Regions from separate parts of the Homo sapiens genome. Here regions 1 and 3 are each linked to region 2. The links are contacts of gene promoters, found by promoter capture Hi-C in blood cells and fetal thymus (Javierre and others, 2016). All regions are on one chromosome and are shown on one strand. Each heading gives the region's core, a stretch centred on a gene start or on the middle of the fragment in contact. The rest is flanking DNA. Distances are from core to core; before and after follow the strand shown.

Region 1 (3,185 bases), core at 217-2,716, 2.0 Mb after region 2:
TGATGGCTACTCATAGAATCCATGTGTAGAATCCATGTGGAGAAACTCTTTCAATTGGTTTACCTGATTGCAAGTTATTTACAAATCTTTTTCTTTTTTCTTAGTTGTATTTTAAAGTTTCATTTTGGTCCTTGCTTTATTTCTTTTCTTGGAATTTTCAGCATTCCCACAGCTTCTACTGTTGACTCCTTTATCTGTATCTCCCAACTCTGATTTGGGCTCCTAAATGATATTTCCAATTGCCTTTGGCCCTGTCTGTCTGTTAATTCTGTAAGCACCTCAAACTCAAGGTGTGCCCCAAACTGAAATCATATTTCTTTTCATTCTTCTGAGGTGCTTATCTTTATTAATGGTATCATCATTTAGTCATTCTTCTAGCCTTTAACTCTGTCTCCAACCCCTTATATCTAATTGGTTTCCAAGCACTCACAGCTTTATTTCCTAAGTACCTCAAGCTTATGTATTCATCATTCAGGCTTTTAATATAAATGCATAATGAGAATCTACCTTTTGTATCAGCAGGATCCAAGACATGATTCCTGCTCTGAAGGACCTATGTCTTACTCATTTTTGAGTCCTTTGCCTGAAACACAGTAGGCTTTCCATAAATGATGAATGCACTTCTGTAACCTAGTACTCTTTTTTGATTGTCTTGATTAGGATTAGGTATTGTTCTAGGAAACACTGTCATCTTGTACACATTTATTTCATACTGACTTTGATTTGACAGCGAAGTATCTAGTAAGTCTCTTGTTCAGAAGATGTGACCATCATATTGTATGGTAAGTTTGTAGGATCAAGCACATATAAGAATAGCATCCCAAATATAACAGTGCTGATTCTATGCAGTATCTTAATGGTATTTAAGGGTCTGTCAAATAATGGTACCTGTCAGGGATTTGTGGCAAAACATGATGTTAAAAATCAGGTATATGAAAAGCACTATAGTGTTTTCTAGTAAAAGCTTACATAGAGAAAGGTTTAGGATATTACCAAACAATTTTTTTTTTCCTTTGAGACAGGGTCTCTCTGTCACCGAGGCTGGAGTGCAGTGGCAAGATATTGGCTCCTCTGCCTCCCCTGGTCAAGTGACCCTCCCACCTCAGCCTCTGGAGTAGCTGGAACCACAGGCATGGGCCACTACACCTGGCTAATTTTTTGTAGAGACGGGGTTTTGCCATGTTGCGCAGGCTGGTCTTGAACTCCTGGGCTCAAGTGATCTGCCTGCCTCAGCCTCCCAAAGTGCTGGGATTACAGGCGTGAGCCACTGTGCCCAGTCATCAAATGATATTTAATTACTTATTAAGTGGCTAATGGCTAATTCCCTACGTGAATGCTCTATTTATTATACAGTTTTTAATTCTTTTTTTTTTTTTTTTTTTTTTGGTAGGCGGCTAAACAAAAGGTAGACAAATCTGGCTAGGTTCAAACAGGAATGTAGAATACATGATGCTATTTATTTTTTTTTTTTTTAACGGAGTCTCGCTCTGTTGCCCAGGCTGGAGTGCAGTGGCATTATCTCCGCTCACTGCAACCTCCGCTTCCCAGGTTCAAGTGATTCACCCTCCTGAGTAGCTGGGATTACAGGTATCCACCACTACATCTGGCTAATTTTTGTATTTTTAGTAGAGACGGGGTTTTGCCATGTTGGCCAGGCTGGTCTTAAACTCCTGGCCTCAAGCGATCCACCCACCTCGGCCTCCTAAAGTGCTGGGATTACAGGCATGAGGCACTGTGCCCGGCCAGAATACATGCTTCTTAATGTTGATACTGATTCTTGAAAAATATTTTGACAGGCTTTTAATACCATTATATACCATCTATGTTGGTATTTCTATATCTTCATTGTCTTATAAATTTTTTACCATATTCTGGCCAAAATTACTTATTTTGATTGACACTTGTATCATAGCTTTGAACATGATTTTATTTTGGTGGCTGCAGTCCTGTTCTCTGAGGCAGTGGTTCTTAAGCTTCTTTCAGCCATGGAACTCTTTAATTTAAAACTGTGGCTTTTCTTCTCTATATACATGATTTTGCAGTGACTTTCAGAAAGTTTGCAGGACCTCATGGCCCCGGGTTAAGAATCCCTAGGCTGAGGCGAACTTCAGTAACTTCATTTCTTGGTCATTGTTTATTACTATTTTGGTCTTAATTCCTAGACTCATTTGTAATTAAACCCTTTTGATTAATTACATTTAAATTTAGTAATTCCCAGTTTTTATTTTTATTTCTATTTTTATTTATTTATTTTTTTTTTGAGACAAAGTCTCGCTCTGTCGCCCAGGCTGGAGTGCAGTGGCGCGGTCTCTGCTCACTGCAAGCTCCGCCTCTCGGGTTCACGCCATTCTTCTGCCTCAGCCTCCGGAGTAGCTGGGACTACAGGCGCCCACCACCATGCCCAGCTAATTTTTTTTGTATTTTTGGTAGAGACAGGGTTTCACCATGTTAGCCAGGATGGTCTCGATCTCCTGACCTCGTGATCCACCCGCCTCAGCCTCCCAAAGTGCTGGGATTACAGGCATGAGCCACCACTCCCGGCCAGTAATTCCCAGTTTTTATAATGTAACACAAATTCAATACTTTTTTTGTTTAAAGCATACTAGCCAATACATTTTTGAAACTAACCTTAATATTCTTATGCTATTAACTCAGTATCTGTAACCCATAATGTCATATAGTGTCTTTTCTAATAGATAATAAGGACTAAATGGAATTTTTTATTTGTAGTAATTATTTTAGAATATCCTATAATAGACTGGTGAAGAAATCCAGTAAGGCAATACAATATGGTGTTTACTCATGGTTAAGTGTGCTACTAAAGTACTTGGTTGCAGGACCCTGATAGTCACTGTTGGAATGATGTCTATGAGACGCATATAGTACATCTTTTTGAATGATCATTTCTCCTTTTGTGCAGCATTACATACTGGTCAATTCTCCACTGCCAGTGTGAAGTGAGGGGATAATACACTCCCCATATTTAGTAATGAAAAACATTCCTAAGTCCTTAGCCTAAATTAGTAGTTTTCTGGATCTCAGTTTTCCTGTTTGTGAATTAATAAAACTAACTTCTCGGGTGATTTCTAAGACATAAACCTAGTTGTGTGGCATGTTTTAAAAATTAAAAATGCTGTTGAAATAACACATTTTCTCTTGGTTAGTTTTTGTTTTGAGAAGTAGGA
Region 2 (3,178 bases), core at 562-3,061:
CAGAGTTCCAATTCATTTCTCTTGTCTGAATTGAACAAGACTCTTCTTTCTTCACCCATCTCACCCCTACCAAAAATACTGAAAGAAATATCTTAATCTAAATCACTTGTGTTTTTAAATAGGGGGTTTTCCAAAAAAAAAAAAAAACCCACAAAATTGAATTTACTCAAGCTTTCAATTGCTGTATTACACCTTCCATGGATTTTTAGTTGTCAAATTATTTCTTATAGCAGGACAATAAGGTACTTTATTCTAAGGTACAAGTATACTAACAGTTTAATGTTTCATCCCCCACCTAAATGGCAGAGAGTGTTAATTCTAACAGGAGTCTTACATGTCTTACACTTTAGCAGTTTCAATCAAAAGATGAGCTATTTTACAATTTAAGGAAGAGGCCTTACACTGTTAAAATCTTGACCGATATGCTCAATGGCAGTACCATCATTGAATCTCCACCTGCTGCCTTACGTATCAAGAACATTTAAAAGTCTTTCTTGTTAGAGACAAAATAAAAGAAAAACTAAGGTGACAAGCGACTATGAGAAATAAGGCTTTAATCAGGTTAAATTTGCATTATGCAGCCTGCATGAATTTAGAGGTCCTAGAATCAAAACACTAGAAGGAACCTTTGATATGCTCTAGTTCAACAGACTGATTTTTGCAGAAGAGGAAACTGAAGCGCTGATGAGACCATTAACTGATAAAGCAAACCGCTTACTTTTTCAAAGGGATTCATTTCAATGCCATTTTACCCTTATTTTGCATCTCACTGTTGTTTCTCAGAGCGACGATTGACCTTTTTTTAGGTGAAAAGAGCGAATAGAGCGTATTAATTTCAAGAGGGTGAAAAATGCCTTTGAAGGAGGAGATGCTGGAGTGAAGAGGAGAAATGACGTCTTATTTAAAATATGTAACCCCTTGATGGGGTTAGACAATGAATCATATTCTCCTAGATTTTTCTATGTCTATAGACATCAGCCACAGTTCTTTCAGGCACTCAAACGAGAGGAAGAGGAAGTGAATAAAGCTCATACTAAATATATAGCACCCACTGAAGGCAGGGATGTAGACAGAAAGAACGGGGGTGGGGGAAGGAAGGAAAGCACGCTTCGCCAGGATCCAGCTGTTTTCTAACAAACCTAAGCCTACGGAAGCTAGGAAGATATCGGAAGCAAGGAAGATATCGGAAGCGACGGCATCCCTCAAATTCGAGAGGGCGGATGCCTCTAGGGCTAGAGAGGCTCCCTAGCCCTCAGTTACAGAGCGACTGGGAGGGGACAAAATGGAGTTGAGGTTTAGGGGCACCCTAAAGGTCGTTTGGAGGTCTAGCAAGCACTTCATGGTCTCCTCCGGAAAGGGCCGTGGCAAAGCCTAGTACCCCGATCAGGAAGATGACTTCTGGCCCTCGGGATGCGGTGAGCGGCAGGAAGAGGCAGGCTGGGGTTCCGAGGACCCCAGAGTCCATCACAGGAGCAGATACAGTGACCTCGGGAATCTTCCCGGCCCCAGCGGAGGCGAGCGGATAGATAGCCCTGGCTCAAGGAAAAAAGCGAGCCGACTCCAGGAGCTGGAATGCCCACCCAACCTCCTCCCGGCTCAGGTGAGGTACGCCAGTCCCCCTCTGGAAATGGGGCCCTGGTACCGACAGGGCAGGGGTGCCGGGGCCGCAACCTCCCCATCCAGGGATACTCACCGGAGGGGCGGCCCACCGCGTCTTCGCAGCCGGCCGGCGCCTGGCACTCGGAAAGCTCGCAAAAAGGAACCGCGTGCCCGCTAGCGCTGGGACGAGGAGGAGCGCGCGGCGGAGGCCAGAGAAAAAGCCGCAGCGGCGCGCGCGCACCCGGACAGCCGGCGGAGGCGGGACTCAGCGCGAGCCCGGAAAAGACGCGCCCGGAGGGGCGGGCGGAGCGGGGGCGCGCGGTGGTGTGGCAGAGCCAGCCGAATCGCTGGCTGCAGACGGCTCGGCCCACCCACGCGCCCGCCCCCGCTCGCCCGGGACGTCAGTCGAAAAGGCGGAGCCGAACGGGCTTCCCGGGGCGCGGGAGGGGCGCTGCGAGGAAGGCGAGGCGGCTAACGGCTCGCCTCAAGTTGTTGCTCCCGCTGGCGATCCGCTTCTGTCAGTCTCGCTGCTGGTGTCGTTGAGTGTGTTTCGGGATGTCCTTGCGCCTAACAGCAGTGAGGCGCAGAATTGGCCCACGCCCTCACCTGCGGCTTGCTTCGCAGGACTCCACCCCAGGATAAAAGTTCCCCTCGGGTCATCTTCCAGCTGCCCTCAAAAGACACTCATTTTTGGGTTTCACTGCTCCTCTTTAAGAGAGCTATCTTGAACACTTTGACTAAAAGCATCTTGCTCCTGTAAGCCTGAACTAATGCCTCTCATCCGTTTATCTTGCCTCTTACTGCGTTAAGATCCCCGCTCACTCCCACTGATGAAATATCACAAGGACGCAGGATTTTCACGTTGTCTTTCATTTCCACGATGGTATCATGGCAAAAAAACCCCCAACTGATAAGGAAAAGTCACCGCAGCTTTGTGACATCTTACTAGCCCTGATCATTGCTTATAAGCCGGTCATACGAATGCTGTTCCAACAGATGCAAGAAATTGCTATTAAAATTAAAATGCCAGCGAACTATCTGAGGGCTTCAAAAGGGACAGACCATAATTGCAAATGAGGCCTGATAAACTGCCAAGAATATATCACCCAAAAAAATAAATCTCAAGAATTCTTCCAGTTCCCTGATGCGTAATGGTGAACTAGCTTCCTGTTCCTGATGGTAATTGACATTTCACTTCACTTGCTGATTTCCATTTTCCCATAGAATTACCATTTGTGCTTGTGTGTGTGTATATATATATGTATATATAAAATGCCTTACCACCTGAGATTACAAGCTAGAGTAGTTCTTCAGTGTGCATCACAATTATCTGGGGTGCTTGTTGAAATGTAGGTACCTGGAGCTACAACCCCCAGGTATTTTGATTCTGATCTGGGTAGGGATAAGAAATTTGAATTTTTAATAAGCAGCCCAGGTGACACTAAAAGTGGTTAGCTGAGAGCACAGAGCTATAGTTTTTGTGTTACTACTCTAAAGCCATATTACCAATTCAATTTCCAAGAAACCCACCCACTTACATATAATATACCTATAAATATTGCTAAGACAGTCATGTAGC
Region 3 (3,377 bases), core at 294-2,793, 1.6 Mb before region 2:
GGAATAGAATAGAAACCCACAGGCCTACTGCTTAGATTTAACAACAAACATCTTGCCCTATTTGCTTTAACTAGTTTTTTCCTTGCTGAGCTTTCCAAAAACAAATCCTAAATATCATGACTTTTCACCCTTCTCTTTCAGTATGTAAAAAATAAAGGTATTTCTTATATAACTATGAGACCATTATTACACTTACTAAAATTAACACTAACTCCTTTAGAATGTCTAATATCCGGTCTGTATTCAGATTGCCCCCAACTGTCTCCCAAATGTCTTTTTGCAGTTGGTTTGTTTAAATCAGGAACCAGACGAGATCCATAAATTGCATTTCTTCATGTTTTTTACGTCTCTTGATGCTGAATAGTTCCTTTCCCTTTTTAAGCCACTGACTTGACTGAAGAATGGTTAAATTTCCAATGGAGTATTAAATCTTAATATAAAGTATTACATTTAAATTTAAATCCTTAAATATCACCAGACCATAATGAAGTAAACCAGGTAAAGATAAGGCCATTTTCAGGTTGAGTAATAAAGGAAAGTTCCAGAAAAGAGAAAACAGTCTCTTGATTTCTAATTCTCTCCCAAAAGACACAAAATGGAGATCTGTAAGTATGGGACAGTCTCACTAGTGCTTACGACACTGTCTGCGAAACACAAGGCCATCTATAAATATTTGTGGGCTTACTAAAGGCACCATGAATCCTAGAAACTGAGGATGAAAGCACGAGAGTCCTGTGAGCAGGAGGGCAGAAAGAAACACTTCTAAACTTCTGTCTACCTCTGCTTAGAATGTCCACTCATTCCCCCATGGAAATCCCACTCATGCTTCAAAGTCTAACTAACCTTCCCTTCTTTGCAAAAACTTTTCCAATTAACGACAGTCATATTCAGCATCAGATCCTCCTATTAACGTGTTCTGAAAGCACCATGTAAACTTCTCTGCCGAGTATTTACCACAATTTGTAATCGGACATGTTTTTGTGCTTATTTTATTGTCTGCATCTTCCACTCCACCGTATCCCCAGCTCCTAGCAAACTGCCTGGCACGGAAGGGGCGTTCAATTTCACATGCGTTACTGAATACAGTTACTAGTAAAGGTAAATAAATCCATATAAAAAGCCTTCCTTTTCACTGATTGGGAGTTTCTGAGAAATGCGGTAGACGTTCTAGAACTATCCAAAAATCAGGGAGCGGAGCTCCGGGCCAACGGGAAAATATCTGAGGTCTGTGGGGCTAGCTCCCGCAGGCCTATCGCGAGTCCCGAGGTGACCCAGGGGGACTGCTTGGGGCGGCGGGGGCGGGGTTCTGCTTCTCTCAGAAACGGGGCCTCCGCTAGGGCCGGGCCCCGAAAGCCACGTAGGGCTTCGCCGACGTCGCCGACTGCGGAGAGACCTAGCGTTGCTTTACCTGGTCAGTTCTAGTAGCCAGGGATTTATCGGCCAGAATACTCTCCTTCAACTCTTCCAGCTTCCCGCTGTAGGCCAGGTTGCAGACCATTAGGTTAGACACACACCCCTCCATTTCGCTGTCCCAGCAACTACTTGTCGCGCGAGCAACGCCCGCCTCACGTCGCCGGCTCCGGCTACGCCAGTCAAAACAGCCGTTAGAGCTTCACCAATCACCGGCCTTCCTCGTTCCCTTTTCTTTTCCCGTCGCGCGGCGCCTCTGGGAGTTGCAGTTTGAGAGCAGTTCCGGGCAGGGAGGCGCCTTTGCTGCCCTCACAGACTTGGCCCCTAGCAGTGCAGAACTACAAGTCCCAGGGATCCTAGCGACCGTCCGTCCGTAGTCAAGTTGCCGGTGGAATTGGCCCAGGATGACAGCTGGAGAATGGAGTCAGGTACGGGGAGCGGCTTTGAGTGGAACCGTGTGAAAGAGCCGGGGTGGGTAGTCGCTGGCGGGTCGTTGAGTCGGCCATATGAAACAGGTTCGGGGGCAGGGCAAGAGTTATGAGAGCCTAAAGGTCCTGTCCCCCGGGGTTCCTGACCTGCAGTGGCAGGCGGAAGGGACAAGGGTTGGAGCTGAGTACTACCTACTGAGCTCGAACCGGTGACTGTGGCTACCCTCCCCCTCCCTGCCACCGCCTAGGGAGTGGAAAGAAGTGGGGGTTAATTACTCTGACATCTCGGCGGTGTGGCATCAGGACAGGGTTCTACCACAGCAGTGATAGCATATGGCACCGTACTGAGGTGATGTGCCAGGGTGATGCCAAAGGCAGGGTGTGATGCCGTGGGAGCCACCTGATATCTAAGAGACCTCGGTGAGTCCATAGCCTGGTGACATCACAGCTTGATGAGGGTCATCTTAAGGATACCGGGCTGTGGTGTTGGCATTTTAATATCACGATATTAACTATGTTGTCAAGGCTTTGCTACAACTATTAAGCTAATAGTGTTTCTTTTTATAGAAATCCCAAATAGTGCCATAGCAGAAGCAATGCAAGACTGATCCTTTATAGGGCATATCCAGAGGACATTATGCCACAACTAGGTAACGATAAGAATACATTCAAGAAAGAGACTCATGATGTTTATGTTTATCCTGTTATAGTGTAGAACAGGAGTTGGGAAACTTTCTGTAAAGAGCCAGATAGTAAATATTTTAGGCTTTGTAGGCCAAAAGGCAAAATCAAGAATATTTTGTTGGTACTTTTATGACAAAAGAGAAAACAAATTTCAACAAATTTTTATTGATGAAATTCAAAATATAATAGTAATTGAGTACTTTTTTTGTAATACAGGAAGACTACCAATGAGAAGAATAGAATTCTTTTTAGGGGATAATATTTTGCTTAATTGGGGCTCAGAATTAGTGTTCCCTATTGTCAAAATTGATTTTAAGTGTTCATCTGTTAATGCTGATCTGTTAGGAAATTTTTACCTATTTAATCTTTGAAAATGTCATTTTACATAGATAGGTACTGCCAAATACTGATATCAATTCATAAACATATACTTTTTTATTTTTATTTTTATTTAATTTTTCAAAAATTTCAGAATAGTTGTAGATTTATAGAAAAGTTGCAAGGTTAGTAGAGTTCCTGTATAACACTCACTCAAAATGAGGCACATTTTACATATCATAAAATTCACTGATTTCAAGTGCATAATTAAATGATTTTTGGTAACTTTACTGAAGTGGGGCAACCATCACCATAAATCAGTTTTAGAACTTTTTGATCCCTCCAGTAAGGTCCCTCATGCCTATTTATAGTTAATCAATCCTCTGTCCCATTCCCAGCCCCAGACAACCACTAATCTACTTTTTTGTTTCTATAAATTTGCCTATTCTGGACATTTTATATAAATGAAATCATACAATATGCAGTCTTTGTGTCTGATTTCTTTCACTTAGCATAATATTTTTGAGATTCATCCAT

What was found. The method cuts DNA at HindIII sites, captures the fragments that hold promoters and counts their contacts. A CHiCAGO score of 5 or more calls a contact.
Region 1: a fragment that was not itself captured here is called in contact with the fragment with the promoter of ACSL4 in region 2 in 1 of 17 cell types (activated CD4 T cells); the score reaches 5.0 in activated CD4 T cells.
Region 3: a contact is called between the fragment with the promoter of PSMD10 here and the fragment with the promoter of ACSL4 in region 2, in 1 of 17 cell types (total B cells). The highest score is 7.4, in total B cells.

Annotation. Positions count from the first base shown.
Region 1 is chrX:111,691,802-111,694,986 of GRCh38, forward strand. All of the region lies in intron 3 of ALG13 (ALG13 UDP-N-acetylglucosaminyltransferase subunit), which reads left to right. Among named protein-coding and RNA genes, the nearest start is that of ALG13, 12 kb to the left of the region's middle. The HindIII fragment of the contact is 1,009 bases long and covers 963-1,971 here.
Region 2 is chrX:109,731,446-109,734,623 of GRCh38, forward strand. ACSL4 (acyl-CoA synthetase long chain family member 4) reads right to left here and starts at 1,812. Exons shown (of 16, transcript NM_001318510.2): 1 at 1,694-1,812. It overlaps LOC105373311 (a long non-coding RNA gene), which reads left to right and starts at 1,066. Exons shown (of 1, transcript NR_158569.1): 1 at 1,066-3,178. RefSeq lists enhancers at 1,175-1,224, 1,285-1,424 and silencers at 1,547-1,667, 1,765-2,074. The HindIII fragment of the contact is 5,191 bases long and covers 170-3,178 here.
Region 3 is chrX:108,089,999-108,093,375 of GRCh38, forward strand. It overlaps PSMD10 (proteasome 26S subunit, non-ATPase 10), which reads right to left and starts at 1,544. Exons shown (of 5, transcript NM_002814.4): 1 at 1,409-1,544. The coding sequence starts at 1,522. ATG4A (autophagy related 4A cysteine peptidase) reads left to right here and starts at 1,780. Exons shown (of 13, transcript NM_052936.5): 1 at 1,780-1,838. The coding sequence starts at 1,829. RefSeq lists enhancers at 1,293-1,692, 1,743-1,982. The HindIII fragment of the contact is 5,520 bases long and covers 1-3,377 here.